Regions from separate parts of the Homo sapiens genome. Here regions 1, 2, 3, 4 and 5 are each linked to region 6. Evidence: promoter capture Hi-C in human tissues and cell types (Jung and others, 2019). All regions are on one chromosome and are shown on one strand. Each heading gives the region's core, a stretch centred on a gene start or on the middle of the fragment in contact. The rest is flanking DNA. Distances are from core to core; before and after follow the strand shown.

Evidence for each region. The method cuts DNA at HindIII sites, captures the fragments that hold promoters and counts their contacts. A contact is called where the count stands out against the background at its distance.
Region 1: a fragment that was not itself captured here is called in contact with the fragment with the promoter of PDGFRA in region 6 in 1 of the 25 tissues and cell types used here (lymphoblastoid cells).
Region 2: a contact is called between a fragment that was not itself captured here and the fragment with the promoter of PDGFRA in region 6, in 1 of the 25 tissues and cell types used here (lymphoblastoid cells).
Region 3: a fragment that was not itself captured here is called in contact with the fragment with the promoter of PDGFRA in region 6 in 1 of the 25 tissues and cell types used here (aorta).
Region 4: a fragment that was not itself captured here is called in contact with the fragment with the promoter of PDGFRA in region 6 in 1 of the 25 tissues and cell types used here (lymphoblastoid cells).
Region 5: a fragment that was not itself captured here is called in contact with the fragment with the promoter of PDGFRA in region 6 in 1 of the 25 tissues and cell types used here (aorta).

Annotation. Positions count from the first base shown.
Region 1 is chr4:52,917,409-52,921,242 of GRCh38, forward strand. SCFD2 (sec1 family domain containing 2) reads right to left here. Exons shown (of 9, transcript NM_152540.4): 6 at 3,317-3,462. Among named protein-coding and RNA genes, the nearest start is that of SCFD2-AS1, 8.0 kb to the right of the region's middle. The HindIII fragment of the contact is 3,372 bases long and covers 765-3,834 here.
Region 2 is chr4:52,641,426-52,645,290 of GRCh38, forward strand. All of the region lies in intron 1 of USP46 (ubiquitin specific peptidase 46), which reads right to left. Among named protein-coding and RNA genes, the nearest start is that of USP46, 16 kb to the right of the region's middle. RefSeq lists enhancers at 519-588, 599-788. The HindIII fragment of the contact is 3,806 bases long and covers 373-3,865 here.
Region 3 is chr4:53,105,238-53,109,094 of GRCh38, forward strand. All of the region lies in intron 5 of SCFD2 (sec1 family domain containing 2), which reads right to left. Among named protein-coding and RNA genes, the nearest start is that of SCFD2-AS1, 180 kb to the left of the region's middle. The HindIII fragment of the contact is 4,966 bases long and covers 1-3,857 here.
Region 4 is chr4:52,534,747-52,538,681 of GRCh38, forward strand. No RefSeq gene overlaps it. Among named protein-coding and RNA genes, the nearest start is that of USP46, 120 kb to the right of the region's middle. The HindIII fragment of the contact is 3,875 bases long and covers 503-3,935 here.
Region 5 is chr4:53,046,639-53,050,237 of GRCh38, forward strand. All of the region lies in intron 5 of SCFD2 (sec1 family domain containing 2), which reads right to left. LOC124900701 (a long non-coding RNA gene) reads left to right here. Exons shown (of 3, transcript XR_007058116.1): 2 at 1,236-1,397; 3 at 2,375-2,460. Among named protein-coding and RNA genes, the nearest start is that of SCFD2-AS1, 120 kb to the left of the region's middle. The HindIII fragment of the contact is 3,051 bases long and covers 526-3,576 here.
Region 6 is chr4:54,227,967-54,231,547 of GRCh38, forward strand. It overlaps PDGFRA (platelet derived growth factor receptor alpha), which reads left to right and starts at 1,327. Exons shown (of 23, transcript NM_006206.6): 1 at 1,327-1,449. RefSeq lists an enhancer at 1-625. The HindIII fragment of the contact is 9,376 bases long and covers 1-3,581 here.

The DNA.
Region 1 (3,834 bases), core at 1,201-3,700, 1.3 Mb before region 6:
CTGTGCTAAGTTCTCTCTCACTAAGAATTAAAAATGTAAGAAATGCCATTCTAGATAACATGCACAGTCTAGGATCCATCTAGCCATCCATCTACCCACCCACTAGGTGGCAAACACTGAGTTAGCCCATGCAGATACCATGGTGATCAAAGACAGGTGCTGTCTCCAGCCTTGGTGAGATGTTCTTTAAGTCAAGAGCTTCTGTGGTTGCCTCTTGATCCCCATTGCCCCCACTCTCCAGGCTGTGAAAAGGTCCTGGCTGCCCTGGAGGGCCAGGCCTGTGGTAATGTTCTGGGATTTATTTCTGGAGGTCTAGTCCAGATCCCACTCCTCTGACCCCTCTAGAGATTTTATATGCTCGATGTAACGCAGTTGGGACACCTTCTCCTTAAAGTGACTAGATGGTGTCTACTTTCTGCATCTGAATTGTGATTGACACCTTTTCCTAACGGGTTAATGGGTAAAGATTAAAATAAGAGGTGCCTCTAGTCCTAGCAAGGGAAGCAGGAGTGGCTCTGAGACTTAGTGCATGCGCATCACAGCAGGACGGAGGACCACTGGGAGGGAAGGTGGGGCCAGTGGGGGCCCAAGGCCTAGATCCTAATATGCAGCATAGGTCAGACCGGGAACAGGAACCCAGGGCCAGGCCAGCTAGCACTCTCCCACGTGACCAGGGAGCCCAGGACATCTCAATCAGATTCTGTCTGGAGACAGCATGGAGCTGGGTAGAAAGCATAGATTTCTTCTGGAGTCACAGGGCTGAGGACCAAATTGGTAGATGAGATGAACAGAATATTGTTTAGCCAAGGACTATTTTTCTAAACCAGACACGCAGCTGGACTCTGAGTCTAGTCTGGACACTTGTACTTTCCTATGCATGCATATTTTGTGTCCAAATAAATCTCCTGATCTGTAATAAATATATATGTATTGTACTTAAGATGTACCTAACAAATATTTACTAAGCATCCACTATGTGACAGATGCCACTCTAGGTACTGGGGATACGGCAGTGAACAAAACCCATAAAAATCCCTGTTGTCACAAGGCTTACATCTGTAATTTAAAAATATTTTAAATTTGAAAAACACTGAAAAACCCAGAGGTAAAAATTACCCATAATCCCATTAAAAAGTGTCACATGTATAGAATATGTAAAAATAAAGCAAGAAATCAGTGTTTCTCCTTATCCATCCAATCCTACCCATCCACCATAAGGTAACCATTATAAATTTTTCCTAAATTTTAAAGACATTAAGTATACATACCTATGAAATATTTATTTTATTCTATTTTTACAAAAATAGAATAATGCTTTACAGAATGACCTACATGTCCCCTCACTGCCACCCAATTGATCATGGACCTCTGTTTCAGTTGAGCTCCCCAAGAAGCGGACCTTGGGCCAAGGATTCAAACACACACCCTGCTCAGCATATCTAGGTCTATTCCATTCATTGTAATGGTTGCACAGCATTTCACCATGTGTCTGTATCATTATTTATTTAATCCCCCCAATGTACACACATTACCCTACCTCCACTCCACTTCCCACTCACTGACACTTAGGATTGTTGGGAGTGTGCTGATGTTATTGACTATTGTAAGGGGGGACATATGCGACAAAGGGAAACTCCATTTTCCAAAGGCCATGGCTGCAAGACAGGGTTCTGAGGGCTGGAGAAATGACAGTGTTGGCAGCAGGGAGATAAGGTCTAAGAAACTTATTGTCCTTATCACGTGCAAGATATATAGCTAATACATGTTTACGTGAAGTTGGCCAAATCAGTCACCCGGATGACATAAAATGGGAAAGACCTCATTCATTTAGTGGTTTATTTTCTCTTTGCCAACTACACCAGCCACTTGCTTCTTGACATTTTTGGTCTCAATGTCATCATATATCACTAGTTCTAGCATGTCTTTTGGAACTAGTCCACATTATAGTATTTAAGATTGCTGATTTTTTAAAATGACAAAACTACGTATGAATACCTGAGTGATTTTATCTGTATTTTGTCGCCGTGGCATTCTCAGATCTTTGAGTAAAGGATGAAAATCTTTATGTTTCTAAGAAGAGTGACAGTTTCTAAGGTCTTCAGTATCTTGGTAGGTGATTTCAGATGATCATCAGCACCACCAATCAACACTTCTAGAATCTCTATGAGAACCATATTATAGTCAGGGAGGAGGTTTTGGGCTGGCAGCAAAGATCTGGCATCTGCCCCTGGCCATCTGCATGCCTGTGGCACGTCACTTGGCCTTCCCGGATCTTGGAATAATAATGCCTCCCTGGCATAACTTGTGGCAATCAAAGGAAAAATCCAATGTAGAAGTGCTCTTCAGGTATCAGCTCCCAAACAAATACAGGATACTGGAGGAAGAATCTGGATTGTGCTAGCTGCAGTGGGTAACATTAGCTCAAGTCTCCCTTAAAGAGTCAGCACCCTGAAGCTGAACTCCTCCCCACTAACAGCACATTCAGCTCTCCAAAAAGCCTTAACAAATAGAGTTTATTTTACTAAAGGTTTTATGGAGAAATAAATAAGATTCCCCACAGTTAAACTTAGTCATCTTTTCCAACAGAAACATTTGTTCTTCCCTGAGAGCTCATCTTTGGCCACCAGGAACCTTAGTTCTGTCTCCTACCTTGTCCAACAAAGACTCCCCAGCCTCAGTGGCTCTAACCTTTCTTTATTCCTTAAGCTTCCCTTTGGGTCTTTCTATGTACTTTCCCCCTCTGAGTTTTTACACAGCAATTATACCTTAATCTTGATACCATCTCTTTACTCAATGGTCAAAAAACATTCTTCTTAGGTCCTCCTGCCCTCCTTTGAAAGCAGTGGAGGAATTTTAAATAACACATATTTTCATCACAAACTTTTTCCCTTGTCGTAACATTATCAGGTGTTTTCATTATTCTGCTCATTCAAAATGTTTACGGACTGGTTAGATCCAGAAACTTGGGAATCCTCTAAGGCCAGCCCCTCATTTGGTACCTGTAGTCATTGGCTCCCAGAGGAGAGAAGGGACTTGCAGAAGGCTATAGAATCAGTCTGCGACAAACCCACAGTTAGAAAGCCATGGCTGACTCCCAACTCAGTGCTCATCCCACCATATCAAGCCTGGGGCATAAATGAATTGAGAGGCTTTCAGATTCCGTGGGACCCAAAACTCTGAACTAAAAGAGAACTTGGAGATCATCTAGAACAAACCTTTGGTTTTAGGAAGGTTAAAAGGGAACCTTTTCTTCTATAGACTCTGAATCCTAGAAGTACAACAGATTAGAAGGTTACTTTAAAACGTATATACTTGCCTGGTGGGTATGATTTCCAGGAACATATACAGACTTAAACTGTTTCAGGAGACTCCGAGCTCCAGCAATATCCCGAAGTGAAGTAAAGAGTTCATCCACGGCAATTTTGGATTTGTGAAATGTCAGATTAATTGAAGAGTCCCAGTCTGAAAAAATCCAGAGATATTTTCTTGAGTGAGTAAATCTTTAAGTTTTCATCATGACAGCTTGAGCTCGATGTAATGTAGTTGGGAGGTTTTTTTTTTTCTTTATTATTATTATTATTATTGTTATTTTTTACCCTGTTTTCCTCTGGCTGTTTACCAACTGGGCTGTTTCAATCGTCCATGAGCAATGAAGCAAATTGAGTATAAATGCCTTTGACAGAAGTGGAACTCAAAATTGCCTGGGATTTCAGCCACTGGCTTCCATCCCTAGACTGCAGACATTTCACAGAAAGCAAGCTCCTAGGGCCCATAATCCTCGGAACACGACTTTGGGAAAATATGAGGAGACACAAAGGAAAATACGAGAGACTG
Region 2 (3,865 bases), core at 1,026-3,525, 1.6 Mb before region 6:
AAACACAAACAACAATAACAAAATCCCAGGAAGGATGATTCATAAATGCATAAGACGGATAAAGAAAGAAATGTTTTGAAGCAATTTACAAGGAAAACAAGTTAGAATTTCTTCCTTGGTCGAGGGGTAAAGGATGAAGACGGCCTTGCCCAGAAGGAGGAAATAATCAAAACAATGGCATTAAAAGGTCTGGAAAAACCAATGAGAACACTGTCAAAATATGGAAGAGCCTAAAACAAAAACACAGGGACCAGGAAGCATCCTTGGAGAAGAGCCAGACCATGCCACAGATTAAAAAACGAAGGCCCAGAGAAGTAAACTTACTTGCCCAAGATCTTTCTAAGGCACCTCATTTATCTGCATCCTAGGACATGCAGCCTTTCTTTCAAGTTTGTACAAGGAAGGGACACAAGAAAGGCCAAAGATAACATGTAAGGATTTCTAAGTACATAGAGAATAAGTCATTAATTATAGACCATAAATTAAAGTGGATGACAGAAGAGGTGAACATTGCTGCTAAACCCACATTTGTAGATCTATCGTTCAAAAGGCTACTCTACTTATCAACTATACTTTCAAAGTACAAAGCACATAAAGGACCTATTTTCAAAAGGACTAGTGTCCCCAGAATTCTGATGACAAAGATCATTCCTATAGTCTTATGAAGAAAGTGAAGCAAAAATGAAGTGACTCAGCCCAAGATCTCAGGATGAGTCAGAAGACACCTGACAGAATTCAAGGGTGATTACAGAGGAATTATGGCTACCGATGCCTCTGATGTAATTAATAATAATAGAGAACTCATAAATAGCATAGACTGTGTACAGTTACTGTTCTAGGGATTTTACTTGTATTTCATTCATTTTCATCTTCATAATAACTCTATGAGGCAGACACTGCTACTGGCCTTATTTTAAAGATAAGAAAACTGAGAGGGCAGGGAACTATTCAAGTTCACACAGCTACTAAGTACTGGAATTGGGTTTGAACTTGAACAATCTGGCTCCAGTGTGTGTGCCCCTAACTACTACATAATATTGACTCTCAGGGAGGCAGAGTCTCCTTGGAACCACAGAACTGAAAGAACTGAAGAAACCGAAGAGGTCACAAAGTTGTTGGGAGAACCCCCTTCCTTCTGAAGCACCCCTTGAAATTTTCTAGAATGAGAACACACAAGTCCTTTTCCATGGAATCTCTACAGAGTACTGGCAACTTGTTTAGAGAAAACATAAAATTGAGGTTGGGAGTCAGAGGAGACATGAGATGTAGTTAAGAGGAAAGCAGATTTTTTTTCAAAATCACTTCAAAGACTGTGGACCTTTTATCTAGCCAAAGAATAAAAACAAATAATGTCAACTTTTAAAATGCTAAAAGAGAAAACCGTACCAAAAAGCAAATTTGAGTTCTAGAGAGTAAACCATTCTACACCTAATAATGAAATAATGTGCAATCTTTACTAAATACTTGGATAGATACTGACAATAATATAACAAAAACAATGGAAAAGGGAGAGAAAGAAAGTGCATATGCAGAACAAAATGTGTTAATATATTAATGTAGCTTATCTCTTGGTAACATAGCTTATCTCTTGGATTATTGCAGGGAGAGGGTAGGGGAGGAGAAAACTGGCGATGAATTAAATAGAGGAACGAAATTATTTATTTTAATCCAAAGAAAGCTGCAGAATATCTGTTATGCCTTTAAAAGATACGAACCCACAGACCAGCCTGGAGCACCCTCCATCTCCTCCTCTGGCTGCCTCTCCTCATCATTTGGTTTCAATGTCACTTCTTCAAAGCTACCTTCCCTGACCCTTCCCACTCATAGAATCCTGTCTGTTCCTCCACAGCCCTTAGCACAATCTGTAACATCATAATTGTAATTATTTAACAACTGTCTTCCCACTAGACCACAGGTCTGCAAATTACAGCCTATGGGCAGAATATGACCCACCAATTGTTGTCATAAATAAAGTTTTACTGCAACACAGCCATGATCATTCATTTACTTATGGCAACTACTTTCACAATATTAACAGCAGAATTGCGTAGCTGTGATAGAGACACTACGGCCCACAAAGTCTAAAGCATTTACTGTCCAGACATTTACAGAAAAGCTTACCAACCCCTGTACTATGCCATAAGCTTTATAAGGGCAGCAATTAGGTCTGATTCATTTGCCAGCACCTAGTAGAATGTCTGGTTGTATAGAAGGCACTTGATAAATTTGCTCACTGAATAAACTTGGGAAGCAGGGGAAAAGTTAGCAGTAGGTGCCACTCATTCAGAGAACTTCACATCTACATATTCATTTAATCTTGCCTGCCACCCCAAGGCAGATTACTCTTAATATCCCCATTCTACACATGAAAAAAATGTAGGGAACCTGCCCAAGCTCACTCAGCCAATAAGAGCAGATCTGGGATTCAAACCTATGTAAATTCGGTTCCTGAGTCTGAGCTCTGGACCACAAGCCAGGAGAGGAGATATTTTCATTCACATTTTCAGTAATTCTTTAGCTACAGATGTAAGGCTTGGGCAGCCAGCCAGGAACTGTCTCTGAGTATGTCCACTTTGGCTGCTGGCTGTCACACATTACCTAACCACCGGGCACTTACCCAGAGTGGCTACGAATGCCTGACCTGTTTAGTTAGCAACATATCACCACGGAGCCCCTGTCCCACTGAGCAATACTGAATGTGACTCTCTCTGCCAAATAAATCACTGATGGGGACTCATTATCCCCATGTCATAGCTGAAGGAAATGAGGTTAACTAACTTGCCAAGGTCAAGTGTTAGCATGAGGCAGAGGTAAGTGGTGAACCTATGATCTTAACACCATTATTCCACAACCCTGGCTCCTGTTTCAACAGCCCACTCCTCTCCAGGCTTCAACAGGGAAAGCAATCATGAACAAGAAGGCAGTCAAGGGGCATTTTCATCCCACAGCATGACAACATGTCACTTCTATGTCTTATGTCAGAAGTCCCCAACCCCCAGGTACAGTTCTGTGACCTGTTAGGAACCAAGCGGCACAGCAGGTGAGCAGGCATTACCACCTGAGCTCTACCTCCGGTCAGATCAGCAATAGCATTAGATTCTCATAGGAGAGTGAACTCTATTGTGAACTGCGCATCAGAGGGATCTAGGTTGCATACTCCTTCTGAGAGTCTAATGCCTGATAATCTGAGGTGGAACGTTCATCCCAAAACCATCCCCAGCTCTGCCCAGGTTTGTGGAAAAATTGTCTTCCACAAAACCTGTCCCTGGTGCCAAAAAGTTTGGGGACCGCTATCTTACATGATATTGAATTAAAAAAAAAAAAAAAAAAAAACCTCTGAAAAAAACCTTGGCCAGGCGCAGTGGCTCACGCCTGTAATCCCAGCACTTTGAGAGGCCGAGGTGGGTGGATCACGCGGTCAGGAGTTTGAGACCAGCCTAACCAATATGGTGACACCCCGTCTCTACTAAAAATACAAAAAATTAGCCGGGCGTGGTGGCACGCGCCTGTAAGCCAAGCTACTAAGGAGGCTGAGGCAGGAGAATTGCTTGAACCCAGGAGGTGGAGGTTGCAGTGAGCTGACATCGTGCCATTGCACTCCAGCCTGGGTGACAGAGAGGGACTCCATCTCAAAACAACAACAACAAAAATTAGCCGGACATGGTGGCATGCACCTATAATCCCATGTACTCGGGAGGCTGAGGCAGGAGAATAGCTTGAACCCGGGAGGCAGAAGTTGCAGTGAGCCGAGATCGCGCCACTGCACTCCAGCCTGTGAGGTGAAGACAGACTCTATCTCAAAAAAAAAAAAAAAAAAAGAAAACCTCAACATGACTTCATTTAATAATTGTACACAGAAGCCAAA
Region 3 (3,857 bases), core at 345-2,844, 1.1 Mb before region 6:
TTCAAGCACAAAACTGCGCGGCCGTTTGGGCAGACACCGAGCTAGCTTTAGGAGTTTTTTTTCATACCCCAGTGGCACCTGGAATACCACCGAGACAGAGCCGTTCACTCCCCTGGAAAGGGGGCTGAAGCCAGGGAGCCAAGTGGTCTAGCTCAGCAGATCCCACCCCCATGGAGCCCAGCATGCTAGGATCCACTGGCTTGAAATTCTCACTGACAGCACAGCAGTCTGAAGTCCACCTGGGACCCTCGACCTTGGTCGGGGGAGGGGTGTTTACCATTTCTGACACTTGAAAAGGTGGTTTTCCCCTAACAGTGTAAACAAAGCCACAGGGAAGTTCAAACAAGATGGAGCCCACTGCAGCTCCGCAAAGCCGCAGTAGTCAGATTGCCTCTCTAGATTCCTCCTCTTTGGGCAGGGCATGTCTGAAAGTAAGGCAGCAGCCCCAGTCAGGGGCTTATAGATAAAACTCCCATCTCCCTGGGACAGTACACCTGGGGGAAGGAGCGGCTGTGGGCGCAGCTTCAGCAGACTTAAATGTCCCTGCCTGCAGGCTCTGAAGAGAGCAGCAGAAGTCCTAACACAGTGCTCGTGCTCTGCTAAGGGACAGACTGCCTCCTCAATTGGGTCCCTGACCCCCCCACCCCCCGCCTCCTGACTGGGAGACACTTCCCAGCAGGGGTTGACAGACACCTCACACAGGAGAGCTCTGGCTGGCATCTGGTGGGTGCCCCTCTGGGACGAAGCTTCCAGAGGAAGGAACAGGCAGTAATCTTTGCTGTTCTGCAGGCTCCACTGGTGATACCCAGTCAAACAGGGTCTGGAGTGGACCCAGTCAAACAGGGTCTGGAGTGGACCTGCAAACACTAGCAGACCTGCAGCAGAGGGGCCTGACTGTTTAGAAGGAAAACAAATAAACAGAAAGGAATAGCATCAACATCAACAAAAAGGATGTCCACACAAAAACCCGATCTGAAGGTCACCAACATCAAAGACCAAAGGTAGATAAATCCATGAAGATGAGGAAAAACCAGCACAAAAAGGCTGAAAATTCCAAAAACCAGGACACCTCTTCTCCTCCAAACGGTCACAACTGCTTGCCAGCAAGGGAACAAAAATGGACGGAGTATGAGTTTGACGAATTGCCAGAAGTAGGCTTCAGAAGGTGGGTAATAAGAAACTCCTCTGAGTTAAAGGAGCATGTTCTAACCCAATGCAAGGAAGCCAAGAACCTTGAAAAAAGGTTAGAGGAATTGATAACTAGAATAACCGTTTAGAGAAGAACATAAATGATCTGATGGAGCTGAAAAACACAGAGAACTTCGTGAAGCATACACAAGTATCAATAGCCGAATGATCAAGAGGAAGAAAGGATATCAGAGATTGAAGATCAACTTAATGAAATAAACAGTGAAGAAAAGATTAGAGAAAAGAGAATGAAAACAAACAAACAAAGCCTCCAAGGAATAGGGGACTATGTGAAAAGACCAAACCTACATTTGATTGTACCTGAAAGTGTACCTGAAAGTGATGGAGAGAATGAAACCAAGTTGGAAAACACTGTTCAGGATATTATCCAGGAGAACTTCCCCAACCTAGCAAGACAGGCCAACATTCAAATTCAGAAAATACACAGAACACCACAAAGATACCCCTCGAGAAGAGCAACCCCAAGACATGTAATCATCAGATTCACCAAAATTGAAACGAAGGAAAAAATGTTATGGGCAGCCAGAGAGAAAGGTCGGGTTACCCACAAAGGGAAGCCCATCAGACTAACAGCAGATATCTTGGCAGACACCCTAAAAGCCAGAAGAGAGTGGGGGCCAATATTCAACATTCTTAAAGAAAAGAATTTTCAACCCAGAATTTCATATTCAGCCAAACTAAGCTTCATAAGCACAGGAGAAATAAAATCCTTTACAAACAAGCAAATGCTGAGAGATTTTGTCACCACCAGGCCTGCCTTACAAGAACTCCTGAAGGAAGCACTAAACATGGAAAGGAAAAACCGGTACTATCCACTGCAAAAACATACCAAATTGTAAACACCATTGACACTATGAAGAAACTGCATCCAGTAATGGGCAAAATAACCAGCTAGCATCATAATGACAGGATTAAATTCACACATAACGATATTAACCTTAAACATAAATGGGCCAAATGCCCCAAATAAAATACACAGACTGGCAAATTGGATAAAGAGTCAAGACCCATTGGTGTGCTGTATTCAGGAGATCTACCTCATGTGCAAAGACACTCACAGGCTCAAAATAAAGAGATGGAGGGATATTTAACAAACAAATGGAAAGCAAAAAAAAGCAGGGGTTGTGATCCTAGTCCCCGATTAAACAGACTTTAAACCAACAAAGATCAAAAAAGAAAAGAAGGGCATTACATAGTGGTAAAGGGATCAATGCAACAAGAAGAGCTAACTATCCTAAATATATATGCACCCAATACAGAAGCACCCAGATTCATAAAATAAGTTCTTACAGATCTGCAAAGAGACTTAGATGCCCACACAATCATAGTGGAAGACTTTAACACCCCACTGTCAATATTAGACAGATGAATGAGACAGAAAATTAACAAGAATATTCAGGACTTGAACTCAGTTCTGGATCAAGTGGACCTAACTGACATCTACAGAATTCTCCACCCCAAATCAACAGAATATACCTTCTTCACAGCACCACATCGCACTTATTCTAAAATTGATCACATAATTGGAAGTAAAATACTCAGCAAATGCAAAAGAACGGAAATCAGAACAACAGTCTTTCAGACCACAGTGCAATCAAACTAGAACTCAGGATTAAGAAACTCACTCAAAACCCCACAACTACATGAAAGCTGAACAACCTGCTCCTGAATGACTACTGGGTAAATAATGAAATTAAGGCAGAAATAAATAAGTTCTTTGAAATCAATGAGAACAAAGACACAATGTACCAGAATCAACGGGACACAACTAAAGCAGTGTTTAGAGTGAAATTTATAGCACTATATGCCCACAGGAGAAAGTAGGAAAGATGTAAAGTTGACATCCTAACATCACCATTAAAAGAACTAGAGAAGCAAGAGCAAACAAATTCAAAAGCTAACAGAAGACAAGAAATAACTACAGCAGAAGTGAAGGAGATATAGAGACACGAAAAACCCTTAAAAAATCAATAAATCCAGGAGGTGCTTTTTTTAAAAGATTAACAAAATAGATAAGTGACTAGTCAGACTAATAAAGAAGAAAAGAGAGAAGAATCAAATAGACACAATAAAAATGATAAAGGGAATATCACCACTGATCCCACAGAAATACAAACTACCATCAGAGAATACTATAAACACCTCTACACAAATAAACTAGAAAATCTAGAAGAAATGGATAAACTCCTGAACACATACACCCTCCCAAGACTAAACCAGGAATAAGTTTAATTCCTGACTAGACCAATAACAAGTTCTGAAATTGAGGCAGTAATTAATAGCCTACCAACCAAAAAAAGCCCAGGACCAGACAGAGTCACAGCTGAATTCTACCAGAGGTACAAAGAGGAGCTGGCACCATTCCTTCTGAAACTATTCCAAACAATGGAAAAGAGGGACTCCCCTCTAACTCACTTGATGAGGCCAGCATCATCCTGACACCAAAACCTGGCAGAGACACAACAAAAAAAGAAAAGTTCAGGCCAATATCCCTGATGAACATCGATGAGAAAATCCTCAATAAAATACTAGTAAAGCAAATCCAGCAGCACATTGAAAAGCTCATCTACCATGATCAAGTCAGCTTCATACCTGGGATGCAAGACTGGTTCAACATATGCAAATCAACAAATGTAATCCATCACATA
Region 4 (3,935 bases), core at 1,190-3,689, 1.7 Mb before region 6:
TCATTGTGGAAGAGAGTGTGGTGATTCCTCAGATATCTAAAAACAGAACTACCATTCAGCCTAGCAATCCCATTACTGGGTATATACCCAAAGGAATATAAATCATTCTATTGCAAAGACAGATGCACACATATATTCAATGCAGCACTATTCACAACAGCAAAGACATGGAATCAACCTAAATGCCCATCAATGATAGACTAGATAAAGAAAATGTGGTACATATACACCATGGAATACTATGCAGCCATAAAAAGGAATCAGATCATGTCCTTTGCAGGAAAATGGATGGAGCTGGAGGCCATTATCCTCAACAAACTCATGTAGTAACAGAAAACCAAATACCGCATGTTTTCACTTGTAAGTGGGAGCTAAATGATGAGAATACATGGACACATGAGGGGAACAACACACATTGGGGCCTGTTGGAGGGTAGGAGTGAGAGGAGGGAGAGGATCAGGAAGAATAGCTAATGGATACTGGGCTTAATACCTAGGTGATGGTATGATCTGTGCAGCAAATCACCATGGCACACGTTTACCTATGTAACAAACCTGCACATCCTGCACATGTATCCCTGAACTTAAAATATAAGTTGGAATTTATATATATATATATATATACACACACACATATGTGTGTGTGTATATATGTGTAAACATATGTGTATATATGTATATATACACACATATATAATTATATATTTTATATATAATTATATATAATAAATTATATATGTAAATTATATATATACAAATTATATGTGTGTGTGTGTGTATATATATATCAGCCATGGTTATCATCTGGGCCAGGAGATGAGCTAAAGTTGTGGACACCTGGTCCCCATCCCCAATGTGCTTCCTGAAGGCTGAACTAGAGTTCTGCTGCTCTTAGGCAATGTGTTATTTCTCTTTAGGCAATCTGTGGAAGCCAAATCATTAGTTGCTGTTTGCTTGGTAACCATCTTGGCAAATAAGATTAAAAGTCAGGATGTCTGTTGGCTCACTGAGTCCTCCTAATGGGCCAGTCTCAGGCTGTCTTACTCTGAAGTATCCTCCACTCCACAAAATCACAGATGAATGCTTCTGGGAAAAGTGGCATCTTGTTTACTTTCACAGAAACTGCCATGTATGCATCAAACCCATTTCCACTTCTGCCTGGGCACACACCTAACCTTGTCTCCCAGCTTCCTTTGCAGTTAGGCCACGTGACATGCATTAGCCAATGCCATTGGCATGGAAGTGATGTGCACCCTTCCTGGTCTTGCTGATAAAGTTACGCCACAGGCAACCCTCCGTGCTCTACAGGGACTTTGGAAGCCACATGCTGAAGACATGAGAGCCACAGGCGAAAGAAATCTGGGTCCTCACATATTACTTGGGTGAGGCATCCACTCATCAGCAATGCCCGTTGTGAACTTTATGTGAGGAAAAACAAACTTCTATCACATCTGAGCCATTACACATTCTTTAGTTTGTTTGTTACAAGTTCTAGGATTACCTTAACAAATACATCTGTCTCAATCATCATGAACCTATCATTCCCATAGCAGTGCCTGGTACACAATAAGAATTTATGTCTGTGGAAACTCTAGATTTTACTAGAAATCAGAGCCTGGTGTTTTCACAGACTAAGAGTAATCATTGACATGCAGGAGACAGACTCTGGAACTCTGCAGAAGAGTTTAGTTGTCTACATTTCTGAAACATGAGGATGCCACCAGGAGAGGAAATATAAGATATTTTTTCCCAATTTCAGTTCTCCTCAGATTTCATCAGTCTGATCATCCAGACTCAGAATTATCTGAAGTTATTTCATTCAGAGACAATAGAAACCAGGGCATTTAAGTATGCAGAGAGCAATTACATTCTGAGAAGAAACCTCTGAATAGCACAATCACTGGCAGCTATTTAAAGAGAATAGAAGATTGAGACTGCATAGGTGGGAAAAAGATCTTAGGTTTGACCTAAAGGGCTGAATAATAATCCTAAAGGACACTTATGGCCCCAGAGCTGGTGCTCTCTGGGGGTGTGAGGCCTGGACAGTTGGAGAACCGGCAGTAGTGACTAGAAAAGGATAGTATTTGGACAGATGCCTGAGGTTACGTTCCAAATTCCTTCCACCTCACCCCACTTCTCATTCCCCAAAACATTATTCTCAAGGGAGGAGTCACGGTATATTGAATTTACCACTGAGGCCATTAAGAGAGGTGTGTGTTGTTATACATCACCAGAAAACATTTCCTTGTTTCTCAAGGTCTTTTTTGATTAAAGAAGCAAAATCATACCAGCTCTTCCCAAACTCATCTTTCACTCTCCATTAAAGAGAAAAGCAAGACTATCAAGTAAGGCAAGCAGCAACCTACAAAATGCAATCTTGGACCACATGAGCAAGAAGATGAGCAATGGACAAGAGAATGGCATTGCAGGTGGGAGTTCGAGGTAGTATGTATGTCGGACAGAAAAAGCCTTGAAATCTACGACCCTCATTGACCCCTCACAAGCGGTTATACTCAAAGCACTTCATCAAGCTTCTGCTCCATAAGCGTAAACAGCCATGCCCTGCACCATGTGACCCCACCCCAGGCTATAACTAACTGAACCAGAAGTGGACACCCAACCCAAAGGCAGCCAATTTAGAATTGCCCAATAGCCTGTGAGATAGCCTGGTAAGAAATCTCTGTTATACACAAATAATGATGATAAAGGCATCAAATTATCTTTCTCTGGAATAGAAAATGAAGATGAAATAAAAATATGATATAAAATGAAAATATGGGGAAATTCTCAGGAATACGAAGAAGAGATAGAGGGAGAGAATCCATCTTCGTTAGCAAGAGAGAAAGAAAAAAAAACAGAGAAAAGGCAGGCAAGATTCAAAAGAATAATGAAAGGTCAAGAGAAAGCAGAAATTATTAAATTAGAGTAAGCAGAAGTTGTGAGGAGGCAGAAGTCCAAATATACGTTAAATAGAGCACGAGGGAGATGTTTCGAGCAGGTTCAAGATAAAGGCAAAAAGGAGGTAGGCCCCATAATGCTATACCTCTTGAAGATCAACAAATTCCAGCTTCTGGTATAAGCAGGGAGACAGGACAGAGGGCCAGCAACAAGATTATCAGTGTCCAGGACATTTAACTGGACACTGAATGACCTTCTGCATGGGATGATTTATTCTGGGCTCTCTGATGCTCTGCTGTCCTGTGGGTCTTACTCTTCTTTGGCTGTTATGTGGCTTTCCCTCGATTCCCAGGAGGCCTGGCAACAAGCTTGAGATTCCTGTTTTCCTTAGTCCCACAAATATGCTAGCAAACTGTCCCCTACTTTTACTCGAAGTAACACAGGTAAGTGTATTCCTTGCTACCAAGCAGTGGGGTGTGTTATTTGTACAGTGTGGATGTATGTGTTTGTCTAGTGTGTTGTATGCTGGGAGGATGAGATGAGAGGCCAAACGCAGAGGACAGAATCACCTTGATAAGTTTGGGAGAACAGGGGGGTGATAAGGTAGGGAAGTCTGGGAATGGGAGTAATAGGAGTGAGCAAACTCATTTGGGCTTCTTCACATATGTCTGGCACCTGGTCTGTGGCTTCCTGTGTCCATCAGTTTCCCTATCTCTTAAATATACTGCATATCAAGAGAAAAGGGTACACGTCTCTTCTATGGACATTCCTAATCTATTGTTATGTTTATTCAGAAAGTCATCTCATCTTCCTCTAAAGAATGTGTTAGGGAGGAGCCAAGATGGCCGAATAGGAACAGCTCCGGTCTACAGCTCCCAGCGTGAGCGACGCAGAAGACGGGTGATTTCTGCATTTCCATCTGAGGTACCAGCCTCATCTCACTAGGGAGTGCCAGACAGTGGGCGCAGGCCAGTGTGTGTGTGCACCGTGCGCGAGCCGAAGCAGGGCGAGGCATTGCCTCACCTGGGAAGCGCAAGG
Region 5 (3,599 bases), core at 801-3,300, 1.2 Mb before region 6:
CTCCCACTTCAACAAAGCTACGTGTTTTTGTTGTTGTTTTTTTCTTTGAGACAGAGCCTTGCTCTGTCGCCCAGGCTGGAGTGCAATGGCATGATCTCGGCTCACTGCAACTTCCACCTCCCAGGTTCAAGCAATTCTCCTGCCTCAGCCTCCCAAGTAGCTGGGATTACAGGCACGCGCCACCACATCCAGCTAATTTTCTTTTGTATTTTTAGTAGAGACGGGGTTTTGCCATATTGGCCAGCGTGGTCTCAAACTCCTGACCTCAGGTGATCCACCTGCATTGGTCTCCCAAAGTGCTGGGATTACAGGAGGGAGCCACTGTGCCCGACCAAAGCTATGTGTTTTTGTGATGTGTGTAGTAATTATTTTCCCAAGTTTTGACTTCTTTTCATATTTCAGTAATAAATATTTACTGAATGCCTACTATATTCCAAAAATTGTTCTATAACTTAAAGATCATAGATTTAAAAAACACAAAGTTCCTGCTCCCCTGCCATTCTCAAAAGTGTGAAATCCCAATTCTCACTGAGCACAGTGGCTGATAACCTATAATCCCAGCACTTTGAGAGGCTGAGGCAGGAGGACTGCTTGAAGCCAGGAGTTCAAAACCAGCTTGGGCAACATAGTGAGACCCAGACTCTACAAAAAATTAAAAAATTAGGCAGGCTTAGTGGCATGTGCCGTAGTCCCCAGCTACTTGAGAGGCTGAGGTGGGAGGATCACTTGAGTGCATGAGGTCGAGGTGGCAGTGAGCCATGATCACACCACTGCACTCCAGCCTGGACAACAGAGTGAGACCCTGTCTCTAAAACAAAAAACAAACAAACAAAAAGCCCCACAATTATCTTCCAAGTATTTTCTTTGCAGGTTGTGTCTTCTTGACTCCTTAACTATCTGTTCCTCATGATATCTTCCTCTCACCTGTACCACGCACACTAATGCACACACATGTACACACATACACTTCTATCAGGTGACTGACATGCATGTTACACCGTCTTACGATTTTAAAATTCAGAATGACTTTACTCTTTTCCAATTTTTGGCTCTGTGGTTCCATTTAGGTTGTTTCTATCCAAAGAAAGCCAGGAATGGCATATTTATTTCTTCCCCCAAACTCCAAGGTGTGCTTTGCTAGTTTGTTTTCCTTAGAGAAATGAGGTTTAAACTGTCTCAGAAATGGGCATCTCCAGTAGGTAACCTTCTGGACTTGAACTGATAATATTTTGCAGGGGTGTCTAATTCTTCTGAAAATGTGACAGCTCTTCGACCTGACAGCCCTTCTGCCCTGACTGGTCACATGTGAGGGAATGTGTGTACTGTCTGGTGACTGCTAAATGTGGCCCAGGCATTCACTTACCCAGTGCACAAGACCCAGCAGCATCACCAGCAAGGTAGCTTGAAAAATCTTTTAATTAAATATTCTAGGCTACGCGCAGTTGCTCAGACCTGTAATCCCAGCACTTTAGGAGGCCGAAGTGGGTGGGTCACCTGAGGTCAGGAGTTCAAGACCAGCCTAGTCAACATGGCGAAATCCTGTCTCTACTAAAAATACGAAAATTAGCTCAGTGTGGTGGTGTGTGCCTGTAGTCCCAGCTACTTGGGAGGCTGAGGCATGAGAACCACTTGAACCTGGAGGCAGAGAATGTAGTGAACCGAGATCGTGCCACTGCACCCCAGCCTAGGTGACAGAGCAAGACTCTGTCTCAAAATGAATAAATAAGTACATACATACATACACACAGACATACTCTAAAACTTAGAGAGTCACTTTAACCTTTGCAGTATTGTCTTGACCTGAAAAAATGAAGATACTAGGTGTAGTGGCTCATGCCTGTAATCCCAGCATTTTGGGAGGCTGAGGCAGGAAGATCCCTTGAGCCCAGGAGTTTGAGAACAGCCTAGGAAACATAGGGAGACCCTGTCTCTACAGAAAATAAAAATAAAAAATTAGCCATGGGTGGTGGTGCATATCTGTGGTCCCAGCTACTAAGTAGGTTGAAGTGGACAGATCGCTCGAGCCTGAAAGGTCAGGGCTGCAGGGAGCTGTGTATCTCAAATGTTTTATTTCGATGGCCCTCCAGGCCCTGGGTCATCTGGCTCCTGCCTCTCTTCTCATTGGGCTTCAGCCATGCTGCCTGCATTCCTCCAACTCCCAGTGCCCCTTCTTGCTTCCTCTAAAGCTGCTCACATCCTCTGCCTCCCCATTTCCTGTCATCTGTCAGGTGGAAGCTTAGGGAGGCCTTCCCTGGACTCCCACACACCACTACACTCCAGCCTGGGTGACTGAGCGAGACCTAGTCTCAAATAAATAAATAAATAAATAATAAAAATAAAGCATCAAAACATTAATCTTAGGAATCTTTTTCAGCTTGTGGAGTAAATCAGATGAACAGTGTGTGAGAATTGGAAAACGTGTCCCAAAGAATAAGCACAACAGAATGGCGTACCTTCTTTCAACCCAGTTCAGTTTAACACAAGAGACTTCACACGGTTAATTCCATGTGGAAAGGACATTTTCTTGCTGGAAACAAATTTTAATCTTTGTGAGTCTGGAATTCACTAGGAAGAACACAAGATATGATACCAAGAATGTCTGCCCAGCCTTGCCATTAGAAGTCTTGTGACATGGAACTCTGTCTGGCACACTCATAACCTTAATGCAAGAGGATGGTGAAGAGGAATGTTTAGTGACCTGAGTGTAGATTATTGGTACTAATAGTAACAATCACAGTAACAACAAACAGTGGTATAGTGCATACCATGTGCTATTCACTGTGCTATGCACTCTTCATAACCTATATTAACTTATTTAGTCGTCACAACAGACCTGAGGGTCAGTCTACAGAGGTTAAATCACTTGTGCAAGCTTACATAGCCGAAGTAGGATTCAAACCCAGGCAGTCTGGGTTTCTGGTGCTCTAAACCACCATGTTTCACTGCCATTAGCTATCGTCTCCTCCTTGTTTTGTTCCCAAATGACAGAATAATGTTAAAGAGTGAGCAGAAAGGCAGCAGGGCATAGTGAATGGAAGGCATGCATCAGCTGGAATCATGAATCTTGCCTGGTTCAGCCTCCTGCACCAAGCTGCCTAATCTGAGTCTATCTCTTTAAAAAATTTCTGATAATGATAATGACTACCTTATGTCAGAAAATTAGATAAAATGCACAGACAAAATGCTCTCTCTCAGTGGAGGGGTTATAGGTCATTTTGTTGATGTTTTTGTTTTATTTGAGGTCATTTTAATTTCCTTCTTTTGGGTTTTCAGTATTTTAAAAAATTCTTTGATTGGCATGTATTCATTCATAGATTCAGCATTCAGCAAATGTTTATTTACTCCTGTTACAGGCTATAGATGTTAAACAGGAAAAAATAAAACACAATAGAAAATATTTTGATATGTGTACATGAGTCCGCAAACACTCGAATGTCACATGCAAAGGTAGTCATATAATGGAGGTAAGGAATTTCTTTCTCTAAAATTCTATGTTTAATGTTGTTTCTGTGGCCACTTTTGAGATCAGCAAATAAAAAGAAGTCTTAAAAACACCTTTAAGTACTTAAGAGAAGCAAGATCTTACCAGGATATCTTAT
Region 6 (3,581 bases), core at 77-2,576:
CTCTGTGACTCTCCCCTGTCCACTGCACTGTGTCCACCCTCCTGGTGAAGGAGGAGACGGCTGTTGGACATGCCAGTCCCAACCTGGCCACTTTGGCCATTTTCAGAGTGCGTGTGTTGGGGTGGGGTTGAGGGAGAAGGATGAAGGATGACCCCCAACCCCAACAGGAGAATTCAAAAATCAGAGAGCGATGAAGGTGAACGCGCTCCCCTCCCCCGCTGTCGCTGGGAAGCCCCACTCTGCCCAGGTCTGGTTCCTGGAGCATCAGCGCCCCCTTTCCCTCGCCGGCAGGATCGTTTCCTCCCGACACTGGCCTCTCGCCTTGGGCGCAGGGTTTGGGGCTCAGCTGTCAATTCCAAGGAATTCGTAGGGTTCGACCCACGCGGCGGGAGGGAACGGAGGGAGAATCAAAAGGCATCCTCCCCCACGACGCGGAGGCGGTGGTACGATTCCTCAAACGCCCAAGCTTGAGCTTTTTTTGTATGCGAGATAGAAGCCAGGGCAACCTCGCCCAGATAACCCCGAAAACAAAGGCACGACCAGATAAGTGACTTCAAGGGAGTAAAGGTCGTTCTATCGGAGAACGTTCCAAACCTACACAGACCCTCTTTTCTTTGTACCGTATTTCAGACCACCCAGTCTTGTACACACACACACACCACACAAAACAAAAACCCATCATTGTCATATTGGACTCAACAGTTTGCCCAATCCTATTAAATAACTAGCAACTATATAGCCCTTCCCCTAAAAGACCCCTAGTTCAAAACGGCGCAACCGCTTGGAGATTTCTCCCGAGGGCCCTATTTCTCGTTGGGCCGAGTTTGTAGAAGGGACATTTCTTGATTCTAGATTTATATTCTCTCTGGGTATTAAATGCAATTTTGTATGTTCCTTTTCTTCTTTTCAAAGAGAATACAAAACTATAGCAGTCTAAGAAAATAACCCCAAAATGGGGAGGCAAACTCATTCTGGAAATGATGGGCTGTTTGTAGTTTCACAAAACCTCTTTCCCGGCAGAGCACCAACACCTCCCCCTTCCACCACCCCCCATCCCATCTGGTCTGCTTCTCCCCGCCCCCCAGTTGTTGTCGAAGTCTGGGGGTTGGGACTGGACCCCCTGATTGCGTAAGAGCAAAAAGCGAAGGCGCAATCTGGACACTGGGAGATTCGGAGCGCAGGGAGTTTGAGAGAAACTTTTATTTTGAAGAGACCAAGGTTGAGGGGGGGCTTATTTCCTGACAGCTATTTACTTAGAGCAAATGATTAGTTTTAGAAGGATGGACTATAACATTGAATCAATTACAAAACGCGGTTTTTGAGCCCATTACTGTTGGAGCTACAGGGAGAGAAACAGAGGAGGAGACTGCAAGAGATCATTGGAGGCCGTGGGCACGCTCTTTACTCCATGTGTGGGACATTCATTGCGGAATAACATCGGAGGAGAAGGTAAGGGAAAAGAAAAAATGATTTTTTGTTTATAAGGGAAGTCCCTGATCAGACTCTGGGACTGGAGAAAGCGAAGTAACTTCAAACTTTGGGCGACAAGAAAAAAAAAAAGGAGCTGGATTCCAGTTGTGTGTCCAGAGAGTAATTTTTTTTTTTCGGAATAAACTTCACTTGGGGACGGGTGGGAGATAACCATAGAGTTAGAAAGTCTAGGTATTTTTTTTAAACACACATTTTCCAGACCTATTTTTAAAAACAATGTTTTTCTAACAACCCTATGGCCTCCCAAAGAAATTGTTTAGGCTTACATTTTTGAGGTTTCTTTTGGGAGTGGGGGTGGTGTTCGTGAATACTGGGCCGAACACCAAGGAACTGGGGGTGGAGGCAGAGGTGTTTGCCCTCTTCTTGGCAGTGGGTCCTGGAAGGCGACAGGTTTTAAATGAGTGTTTTCATTCCTCGCCTGCGGTTTGGCGGGACAGCGCTGCAGCCCATGGTGTGGAGCGCGGCTGGGGGACCAGGGGGAGGTGGGGAGAGGGGAGCGTGGAGGGGAGCGTGGAGGGGGGCGCGCGAAGGGGTTGCGGGGCGCAGGAGGCGGGCTGGGCTCGGCTGGAGACCGGACCTCGGTGTTGGCCTACAGCACAGGGAGCCGGCCGAATGCGCGTGATTACTGGACGGCGCTGCTCTGGGAGAGAGTCGGGGCCAGATTTGGCGCGGCGGTGAGGCGGCTGCGGGACAAGCAGAGGCGCGCGGGCGTGGGCAAGGGTTTGGGGCGCTCTGGAGCGGTTTGTTGGGTCAGTGAGGTGCCAGGGAGAGCGGGTGCCTGCCGGGCAGTGTGCTCGGGTTGCACGCCCTAGCGCGGGGGCGACAGCGGCGGCGCGGGCGGGCGGTCTGGAATAATGACAAACACATTTGGCCCTGAGTGAAGAAGTCGTCGTCGCCTCGCATTCCAGCAACTGGGATTTGAGGAATTTCGAACCGCACACCAAGGGGCCCTCATTGTGCTCCGTGGCCCCCGCCCCCGCCTGTCTTCCCGCGCCCCCTCCTCGGTGGAATCATTTCTGCATTGCCCGGGGGCTCTGCTTTCGCTCAGTTCTGGCCGCAGGCAGGAAGAGAGGAAAGGTCTCCAGGAAGGTGCCGAACTTCTTGTGAGGAAGTTAGGGACGACTTGGAACTGGGGAAACTTGTTTGCAGGTAAGACAGAAAGGTGGGAGGTAAACCATATTCTCCCTCCGGGCACCCGAGCCCTGGACACCCCCTACCCGGCACCCTTCTCCGCGCGGGGGTGCGTGGCACTTGCCGTCTGAGCTCGCCCAGCGCTGCTCGGTCCTCTCTAGTTGGCCTTTTTTCCATTCCTCTCCCTGCCGGCTTCAGAGCCGTCTGTGCGTACTTCTCCTTCCTCTGCTGTCTACCCCCATGGAAACCAGATTTACACACGAAATTAACTCCGCCCGGCTGCGCCCAGGGAGCGGGCGGCGTCCATTTGGCATTGAATATGTGGGATCAGCTGTTCTATTCCGGGAGGGTGTCGGCCAGGTCGGAGCGACGAGTGTGGCCCAACCCGAGTACGTTGCCAGAGGGAGCCAGGAGCCTGGGCCGGGCCAGGTGTGCGAGAGCTGCCGATGGCCTGGCCTCGCGTCTTGGTCGGGAAGGACTTGCTGGCCTGGCAGGCTGTGCGTTGTGCATCCCTCCCGCAGCCAGAGCGCCGGTCCCGCACTTCGCTCCCCGAATTGTGCTAAGACCTCAGGATGTGCGCAAGGAGTGCCTGGAAGAACTTGCCACTCACTCCATCTTCCTGGGTGGGAGGCAAGCATGGATGGGGCCCATATCAGGTCCCTACCGCCCCGCGTCCGAAAAGCCGCGGGCTGGGCGGTGTGGGAAATGGCTTTTTGGCTCCGAGGCCAAATTGCTCAATGTTTTGGACCGACTCGCCTCGCCGCGGTCGCTCCTGACAAGAACTAGACAGATTTTTGGAGCAGGGAGCATCCAGGGCAAACGCACGACAGTCCTCCGCAGTGCATCTCACCGGACAAACATCCCCGGAGCCACAGGAGGGGAGGAAGGGGCTCTCCGGGCGTGCGCACCTCCCCAGCCGCCGCGCTGTCCCATCCCCGACCCCTAATCTGGTCAACCTG